Linked DNA regions of Homo sapiens: regions 1 and 2 are each linked to region 3. Evidence: promoter capture Hi-C in 16 types of primary human blood cells and fetal thymus (Javierre and others, 2016). All regions are on one chromosome and are shown on one strand. Each heading gives the region's core, a stretch centred on a gene start or on the middle of the fragment in contact. The rest is flanking DNA. Distances are from core to core; before and after follow the strand shown. Region 1 overlaps PCED1B (PC-esterase domain containing 1B). Region 2 overlaps PCED1B (PC-esterase domain containing 1B). Region 3 holds the start of LINC02416 (long intergenic non-protein coding RNA 2416).

The links. Contacts are between HindIII fragments. The CHiCAGO score rates a contact against its expected background, and 5 or more counts as called.
Region 1: a contact is called between a fragment that was not itself captured here and the fragment with the promoter of LINC02416 in region 3, in 2 of 17 cell types (activated CD4 T cells and total B cells). The highest score is 6.1, in activated CD4 T cells.
Region 2: a fragment that was not itself captured here is called in contact with the fragment with the promoter of LINC02416 in region 3 in 1 of 17 cell types (monocytes); the score reaches 5.5 in monocytes.

What each region holds. Positions count from the first base shown.
Region 1 is chr12:47,111,711-47,114,410 of GRCh38, reverse strand. All of the region lies in intron 2 of PCED1B (PC-esterase domain containing 1B), which reads right to left. Among named protein-coding and RNA genes, the nearest start is that of AMIGO2, 33 kb to the right of the region's middle. The HindIII fragment of the contact is 886 bases long and covers 967-1,852 here.
Region 2 is chr12:47,134,848-47,137,547 of GRCh38, reverse strand. All of the region lies in intron 2 of PCED1B (PC-esterase domain containing 1B), which reads right to left. It also overlaps the pseudogene IFITM3P6. Among named protein-coding and RNA genes, the nearest start is that of MIR4698, 52 kb to the left of the region's middle. The HindIII fragment of the contact is 6,185 bases long and covers 1-2,700 here.
Region 3 is chr12:47,352,363-47,355,062 of GRCh38, reverse strand. LINC02416 (long intergenic non-protein coding RNA 2416) reads right to left here and starts at 1,295. Exons shown (of 4, transcript NR_183615.1): 1 at 1,181-1,295. The HindIII fragment of the contact is 14,565 bases long and covers 1-2,700 here.

The sequences.
Region 1 (2,700 bases), core at 160-2,659, 240 kb after region 3:
ACTGAAAAGCCTCTTTCCAGACTTCAAATATTTCTGCTTTTAAGTCATAAGTTGGACTTGAGGCAGAGGGCCTGAGTTTGAATCTAAACTCTATCACTTACTTTCTATGTGGGCTCAGTTTCCTCATGTGTCAAATGGGAGAGATTAGCATCCAACTTGCAGGTTTGGTGTGAAGATAAAAGTGTAAAAGATAAGCCTCTAAGTGGCACATAGTGGATACTCATGAAGGTGTGCTGAATCTGAATTCTGATAGCTGCTCTCTCTGTACAAGTGTGCTCCTGTGTTATGGCTTTGCATCTTTCCCCAAGCCCAGTAAATCTGTAGTCAATTATCTAAGTCCTAGATTCCCATCTGGAATCACAAGAGGAAGAAAGAACTATGCAGACATACAAAGGGTTTCCCCATTGTGTACCTCTAAATAAATTATGTGTGTGTGTGTGTGTGTTTTTTTTTTCTTTTTTAGATGGAGTCATGCTCTGTCACTCAGGCTGGAGTGCAGGGGCGCAATCTCGTCTCACTACAAACTCTGCCCGCCACCACACCCAGCTAATTTTTGTATTTTTAGTAGAGACGGGGTTTCGTCATGTTGGCCAGGCTGGTTTCGAACTCCTGACCTCAGGTGTTCCACCTGCTTTGGCCTCCCAAAGTGTTGGGATTACAGGCGTGAGCCACTGTGCCCAGCCATGCAATTCTTAAAATTACATTCTTAAAAAAAAAAAATTGCATTTTGGCTACACTTTGGACATATATGGTTCTCTGCATACAGGTCCCACAGATTTCTGATGCAAACTAAAAAGCAGTACAAATCTGGTAAAATCTGATTGTCTGAAGCCTCTCAATCTTTCTGCTCCTTTTGGGAGGTGGGGGTAGAACAGGGGAATAGGATTTGAAGCAGGAGCGTCATCAGTATGGAACAATGCAGTATAAAGCATGAAAGCTGAGCAAACAGTCAGATCTGGACAAGCTTCTTTCTCTTTGTTGCCAAATTTGGAGTAAAAAATGCCTCATCATGTCATGGTTGTGAAGATTGAACTAAATCATGTATGTAAGCTGCCTAACACCGTGCCTGATACATAGTATATGTTCAAGAAAAGTGAGGTATTTTCATTCCCCTTCTGTGATTCCTAAATTCAGAGATTTTCCCATCTTCTGAATTTCCATAGCCGTCTCTGATACCATATATTATGTCCTCACTTGTACAGTATTATGTAATTGAGTATAAATCCTCTCCCCTACTTCTTTAGAACAGGGACTCTGTCTGAGCATCTTAGTATATCCCAGAGACCAAACCCAGTGCCCAGCTTTACAGAATGAATAAGACATCCCCAAGTCATTGGGAGGGGATTGTGTATGTTTTTAAATAATGCTAGTTCTGTTGTCCAGTTTTTGGTAATAGATTGTAAAGGCAAACCTAACAAGAGTGAAGGAATATCAGTTAAGAGGAAAGGAAAGGAAATTCCATTTGCTTTTGCACACAGCAGGGCAGTCGTATGTGCAAGGGCTGACATGCCCAAGAAGCTGTTACCGCTCTCTGCAGGCTGAGGCTCTTTACTGTAAAAATGAAACTTTAGTCTCTTAGCTGAAGGAAGGAAGCACTTGAATAATCCCAGTACTCCCTGGAGCCCAGGGAAGAATTGAAGAGTCTTCCAAAAGGCATAAGAGAAAGGCAGGTACTATGTCTATTACAAACACTGGCTAATAATGTGACCTTACAGAGTTTTTAAGAGACCACACATTGGAAGGCATCATGGTAAAATAATGTACCCTGGAAGTAGCTTTTTACGACAAACACTCAAATTTCTAATTACTGAGGTCCAACATATAGATTGTGATTAAAATCACAAACAAAGCTTCAGCTAAAATCACCGTTTTGTTAAATAGAAACAGCCAGGGAAATAGTGAGTGGAAGTGGTTGCTTCATTTCCTCCACTAACATCATGGAATATGGAGAGATATATTTTCCTCCAGGATAGAAACTTAATGAAGTATAGAGAAATTTGCTAAGAGAATCTTATTAAAATGGATCTTACTTAAAATTCTAAAGCATAGCTTTTAGTCTTTAAACAATCAAGACTCTGTATTTGGAAGTCATTAGGAAATAAAGTCACTTTTCAGTGGACTGAGAGGAATCCCCTGATGCAAGTTTGGCAGAAGTTTCCCTTGGATAATAGATAGGGAGTGTATCAAGTAATTCCAGATTTTATGCTGTGCTTGGTGCAGTATTGGCCATAGAACAAGTGTTAAATAAAATAATAGCAACATATGACATGGAAAGCCTGATTGATTCTCCTATTCTTACTGCTAAACCCACATACCAGATGGTAATACACACCCATAATCAAGCACAGAGCTCGCGTGGGCTGGGGGTTGGCAGCTCTGAGTCAGGTGGGCTGCCTTTTCTCTGGCCATCTTATGGAGGGGCTACACGACCCCCACCAACAGCTTATGAGGGGCAGTGCCGGTGCCTTTGAGCGATCAGAGAACCCATGAATGGATAATCCATGAATGATACTGAATTCCTTCAAAGATGTACAAAATGACATCGGCTCCCTTTACCATGAGAAGAAGTGACTTTCTAATAAGATCTGTAAATAAACCGAGGTACCTCAGCTAGAACAAGCACAGCTGGTTGCTTATGAGACACTTGGAAGTATTTATTGGCTCTTTAAAAAAAATTTACCTTGAAGACATTATGCTGAG
Region 2 (2,700 bases), core at 191-2,690, 220 kb after region 3:
CATGCTGCCCAGGCTGAAATGATTCCTTTTTTGAAAGACAGAATAGCTTTCCCTAAATGTTTAGAAATTAGGATAGAAACATCTTAGAAAAACGTATACAAGAATCTAATAGCATTCTTTTAGGTCTTACATTATATAGCTTAAATATTTTGTCTCCAATAACAGATAAATTATTTTTGCAAAGGATTGCCTTGGATTTGTTGATGATTCCACTCTAATCACATCTATATTTGAAGACATATTTTGGACATGATCAAATAAGAAGCTAGCATGTTTAATCAAAATATGCCATTAATTGTTTAAATGTGAAGGAAATAAAAAATGAAATTAAGACTTTGTTTATATTCATATCATGGGAAATTTTCAAAATAGATTTTGTAATCAGTACCAGAACCTTTCACAACCTGGAGAATGGCAATAAGACATTGCTGAAAGTAGTCTACAGATATGTTACTTCCCAACAATTACAGTAATCGAGAGTGTTGCATAGTTTGCAAAATACTTCATGAGTTCTTTTAATTAGCAAAACAAGGTATTGGCTAGGAAGAAAAGTTATTATTATTTTCATTTTATAGATGAGAAAACAGAACCACAGAAACTGAGGGAGTTACCCAAGGTTACGTGGCAAAGGAGTGACGGTGGCACATCTAGAATCCAAGTCCACTGACTCTCATCATAATGGCCTTTTTATATCATGCTTCTCTTGAACTATGACTTGTCTTCTAGTATATGTAGATATCGTTTATACTTAAAAATTTGCCTAATACTATCTCATAATGATGCTAAGATTATTAAAATGGAAATTAAAGTTTGTAGATATCGTTTATACTTAAATATTTGCCTAATACTATCTCATAATGATGCTAAGATTATTAAAATGGAAATTAAAGTTTGTCAACAGTGTTACTTAAAATTGGGAAGATTAAGGAGTATGAAAGACACTGAAGAACTACTTTCAAAGAGTCATCTTTTAAAGTTCTGGTGTGCAAGTTTTGTGCAGTGCATAAAGGCATGAATATTTGGTTTCTTTCCCAGCTAAGATCACTCAAATTTCCCTTGGGTACATCATGCTGCCTTCTTATTATTCACTTATCCTTTAAAGTAGGTGACAATTTGGCTTTTGTTATCACCTATATCTCATTTTAAAGTGAAATCAGCCTGAAATTCTTTGCATAAGAGGGCTTAAGAAGTCTATCTGTTAAGATAAAGGGAAGAAAATAATTTATTTCAATCATTAGAAACTTTTGACAGGTGGACAGGCTAATTTTCTTGATTTACAAAGCGCTCATTCAAATGAATTGAAAGGTGAGCAAATCAATAGAAAAATGGGCAAAAGATAAGATCATGCATCTTACAGAGCAAAAGTACAAATGGGCAAGAAGTATGTGAAAGATGATTATAATAAAGGAAATGAATACCAAAACATGATATATCTATCAAATTGGCCAAAAAAAAAAAAAAAGAAAGAAATTGAATGGTGAGTACTGGTGAAAGTATGGAGGAAAAAAGGCTACTGTACCCTTTTGGTGGAAGTGTAACTTTGAATGCTCTCCTGGAGAGTAACTTGTTCTTATCTATAAAAATCTTTTTTTTTTTTTGGAGAACCATCCCAGCAACCCAACCACAGCTGGTTCTCCCTGGAGACCATGAACCACACTGTCCAAACCCTCTTCACTCCTGCCAACACCGGCCGCTCCACCAACCATGAGATGCTCAAGGAGAAGCATGAGGTGGCTGTGCTGGGGGCACCCCACAACCCTGTGCCTCCAGCGTTCACCATGATCCACATCTGCAGTGAGACCTCCGTGCCCGACCATGTCGTCTGGTCCCTATTCAACACCCTCTTCAAGAATTCCTGCTGCCCGGACTTCATAGCATTCATCTACTCTGTGAAGTCTAGGACAGGAAGTCTATGGACAGGAAGATGGTTGGTGACCTGACTGGGGCCCAGGCCTGTGTCTCCACTGCCAAGTGCCTGAACATCTGGGCCCTGGCTCTGGGCATCCTCCTGACCATTCTGCTCATCATCATCTCAGTGCTGATCTTCCAAGTCTCTCGATAGAACAGGAGACAGCATCCGGGCCAGGAGCTCTGCCCACAACCTGTCTCCCATGCACTCCGCCTTCCATTCCTTGCCCTGCCCCCAAAGCTGAGTCCTGTATCAGCCCTTTATCCTCACACACTTTTCTACAATGTCATTCAATAAAGTGCATGTGTTCGTGGTGCAAAAAAATAAAAATAAAAATAAAAATAAAAAAATTAACTTTCTTTAACATATTAGCTGGTACTTTGAATAAAAATCTTAATTGCATATATCCTTTGAAGGAGCAAGCCCATTGTATGAAATTTACTATAGGAATATAGTGATGGAAGTTCACCTAGATCTATGGACATGGACACCAAACTCATTAATTAAAGCATTATTTGTAATGGCAACAAACTAAATGACCAATTCCTATCAGTAGAGATTGGTGAAATAAAGTTAAATCCATCGGTGCAAATACTGGTTCCTAAAAGATACTGTAATGTATGTATATGAAATGATTCTCAATATTTGGTAATAAGTTAAAAAATGAGTGAAGGGGTATATATAGTGTGAGCTCTGTTCTGTGGATTAGGAAAGAAGAAAAATAGATTGAAAATATATGTGAAAACATGTATATGCATGTATATATCTTTTTGAGATAGAGTCTCACTCTG
Region 3 (2,700 bases), core at 46-2,545:
CTTGAGTCAGTGGGTTGGGAAAGGCAGACCCACCCTTAATCTGGGTGGGCACCATCTAATCAGCTGCCAGCATGGCTATAATATAAAGCAGGCAGAAAAAAAAAAAAACAACAAAAAAACATGAAAAGACTAGACTGGCCTAGCCTCCCAGCCTACATCTTTCTCTCATGCTGGACCCTTCCTGCCCTCAAACATCAGACTCCATGTTCTTCAGCTTTGGGACTCAGACTGGCTTTCCTTGCTCCTCAGCCTGCAGATGGCCTATTGTGGGACCTTGTGATTGTGTGAGTTAATACTTACTAAACTATATCTATATCTATATCTATATATCTATATCTATATATATATATATGACTCAAATGTTAATCTCCTTTGGCAACACCCTCACAGACTCACGCAGGATCAGTGCTTTGCATCCTTCAATCCAATCAAGTTGATACTCAGTAATAACCATGATAATAATCGATATATTTTATGCTTCAAAATTGTAATCAATATTTCACGCTTCAATATAACTTTTTTTATAATTTCATCTTTTATTTTAGATTCAGGGATACATGTGTGGGTTTGTTACATGAGTATATTATGTGATGCTGAGGTTTGGGGTACAATTGATATATATATATATATATCATATATATGTATATATCATATATTATCCCATTAGTTCTGTCCCTCTAGAGAACCCTGACTAATACAATTATAAAAACCAACAAATGCCTACTTGACATACCCACTTGATTATATAATAGATATCTCAAACTTAACAGCTCTCAAATGGAATTTCATATTTCCCCCTGCCCCAGACTGACCCACCTCAGTTTTTCCTATTTCAGTAAAAGTCACCACGGTTTTACTCAATTGCTTGGGCCCAAAACTTTGGAATCTTATTGACCACTCCCTTTCTCTCCCTCTCCATGCCCAATCCATCAAAGAATACATGTAGAATTAGCAACTTTTCACCTTTGTCCCTACCAGGCCCAAGTTGTGGATTGCTTTCACCAGGACAATGACCATAGCTTCCTGTATGTATCCTGGCTTCTCCACTTACTTTGTCCTGTCTATTTCTCTGCACAGCAGCCAAATGGATCCTTTTACAAACATTATACCGGTTAAGTCATTCCTGTACTCAAAAAACCCCACAGCAACTTTTAATCACCATAAAATCCACAATCCTTACCAATGTACAAGGCGCTTCTTGATGTGTCCTCCGGCCACCTCTCCAGATAATTTTCTGTCTTTTTTACCTTGTTCAGTGCATGTCGCCTATTCTGATCTGTTCATCGTTGCAGTTTCCTTTTTCTTTTCTTTTCTTGAGACGGAGTCTCACTCTGTCGCACAGGCTGGAGTGCAGTGGCACACTCATGACTCACTGCAGCCTTGACCTCCTGGGGTCAAGTGATCCTTCCACCTCAACCTCCCAAGTAGCTGGAACTACATTCACAGACTACCATGCCCACCTAATTTTTGTATTTTTTATAGAGGCAGGGTTTCACTGTGTTTTGCAGGCTGGTCTCAAACTCCTGAGCTCAAGAGATCTGCCAGCCTTGGCATCTCAAAGTGCTGGGATTACAGGCGTGTGCCACTGTGCCTGGCCATAAGCTACACATTGTTATATTGAGAAGATCCTCTTGAAAACATATGAGTTACAGCTGGCCCTCTGTATATGAGGATTCTGCATCTGCAAATACAACCAACCATAGACCAAAAATGTCTGAAAAAAATTAAAATGACAACAACAACAAAAAAACAAATAAAAAACCAACACAATGCAACAACTATTTACATAGCATTTACATTATATTAGGCATTATAAGTAATCTAGATATGATTTAAAGTATATGGGGGATGTGCATAGGTTGTATGCAAACACTACACCATCTTATATCAGGGATTTGAGTATCTGCAGATTTTGGTACCCACAGGGGGTCCTGGAACCAATCCCCCGTGAATACCAAGGGACAACTTTATATGTAAAAATTAAGGCTGCTGGATGGATACATTTTACCAGCATATATCTTGGTATATGCATTACTGTCAAACCCACTATTCACAAAACTTCTGCTACTTTATTTCTTTAATCCATCTTTGGTGAGGAAAAAAATGTGTGTACCAAGCTGCTGGTAGACGGCACCAGTCTGCATAAGATAATAGCCAAAACCAGAACCCCAAGTCAACATGCATGACTTGTAGAATATCTGAAGTTAATAATGTTCATGTAACCCAAAAAGAGCTAGTGGATTTTAGGACCAATGATAAGGATATTAAAGATCAAAGAGAATGAAATGTCAAAGAGAATGAAATGAAACCAGGTTTCTTAGTATCTGAAGAGATTTCTATTACAATCTCTCTATCCATAATTTGAAGTCTATTATCTTCTCCTTAAAATTGGACATTTGAAATAAATAAAACTGTACAAAAATTAGGGCAAATTACAATAGCCTGATAATTACAACCCCAAACTATATATTACTTTTTAATTTTTTAACAGATTGGCAGCCAGAAAAGAATATTTTCTTTGTATTTATTTTTTAAACAAGTAACTTTGAACTTACTTCACTTCCTTCCTTCCTTCTTTCCCTCCTTCCTTTCTTCCTTCCTTCCTTCCTTCCTTCCCTCTTTCTTTCTTTTCCTTTCCTTTCCCTTCTTTCTTCAAATAGCATCTGGACTGGATCTAAACTAAACTCACAGCACATTTAT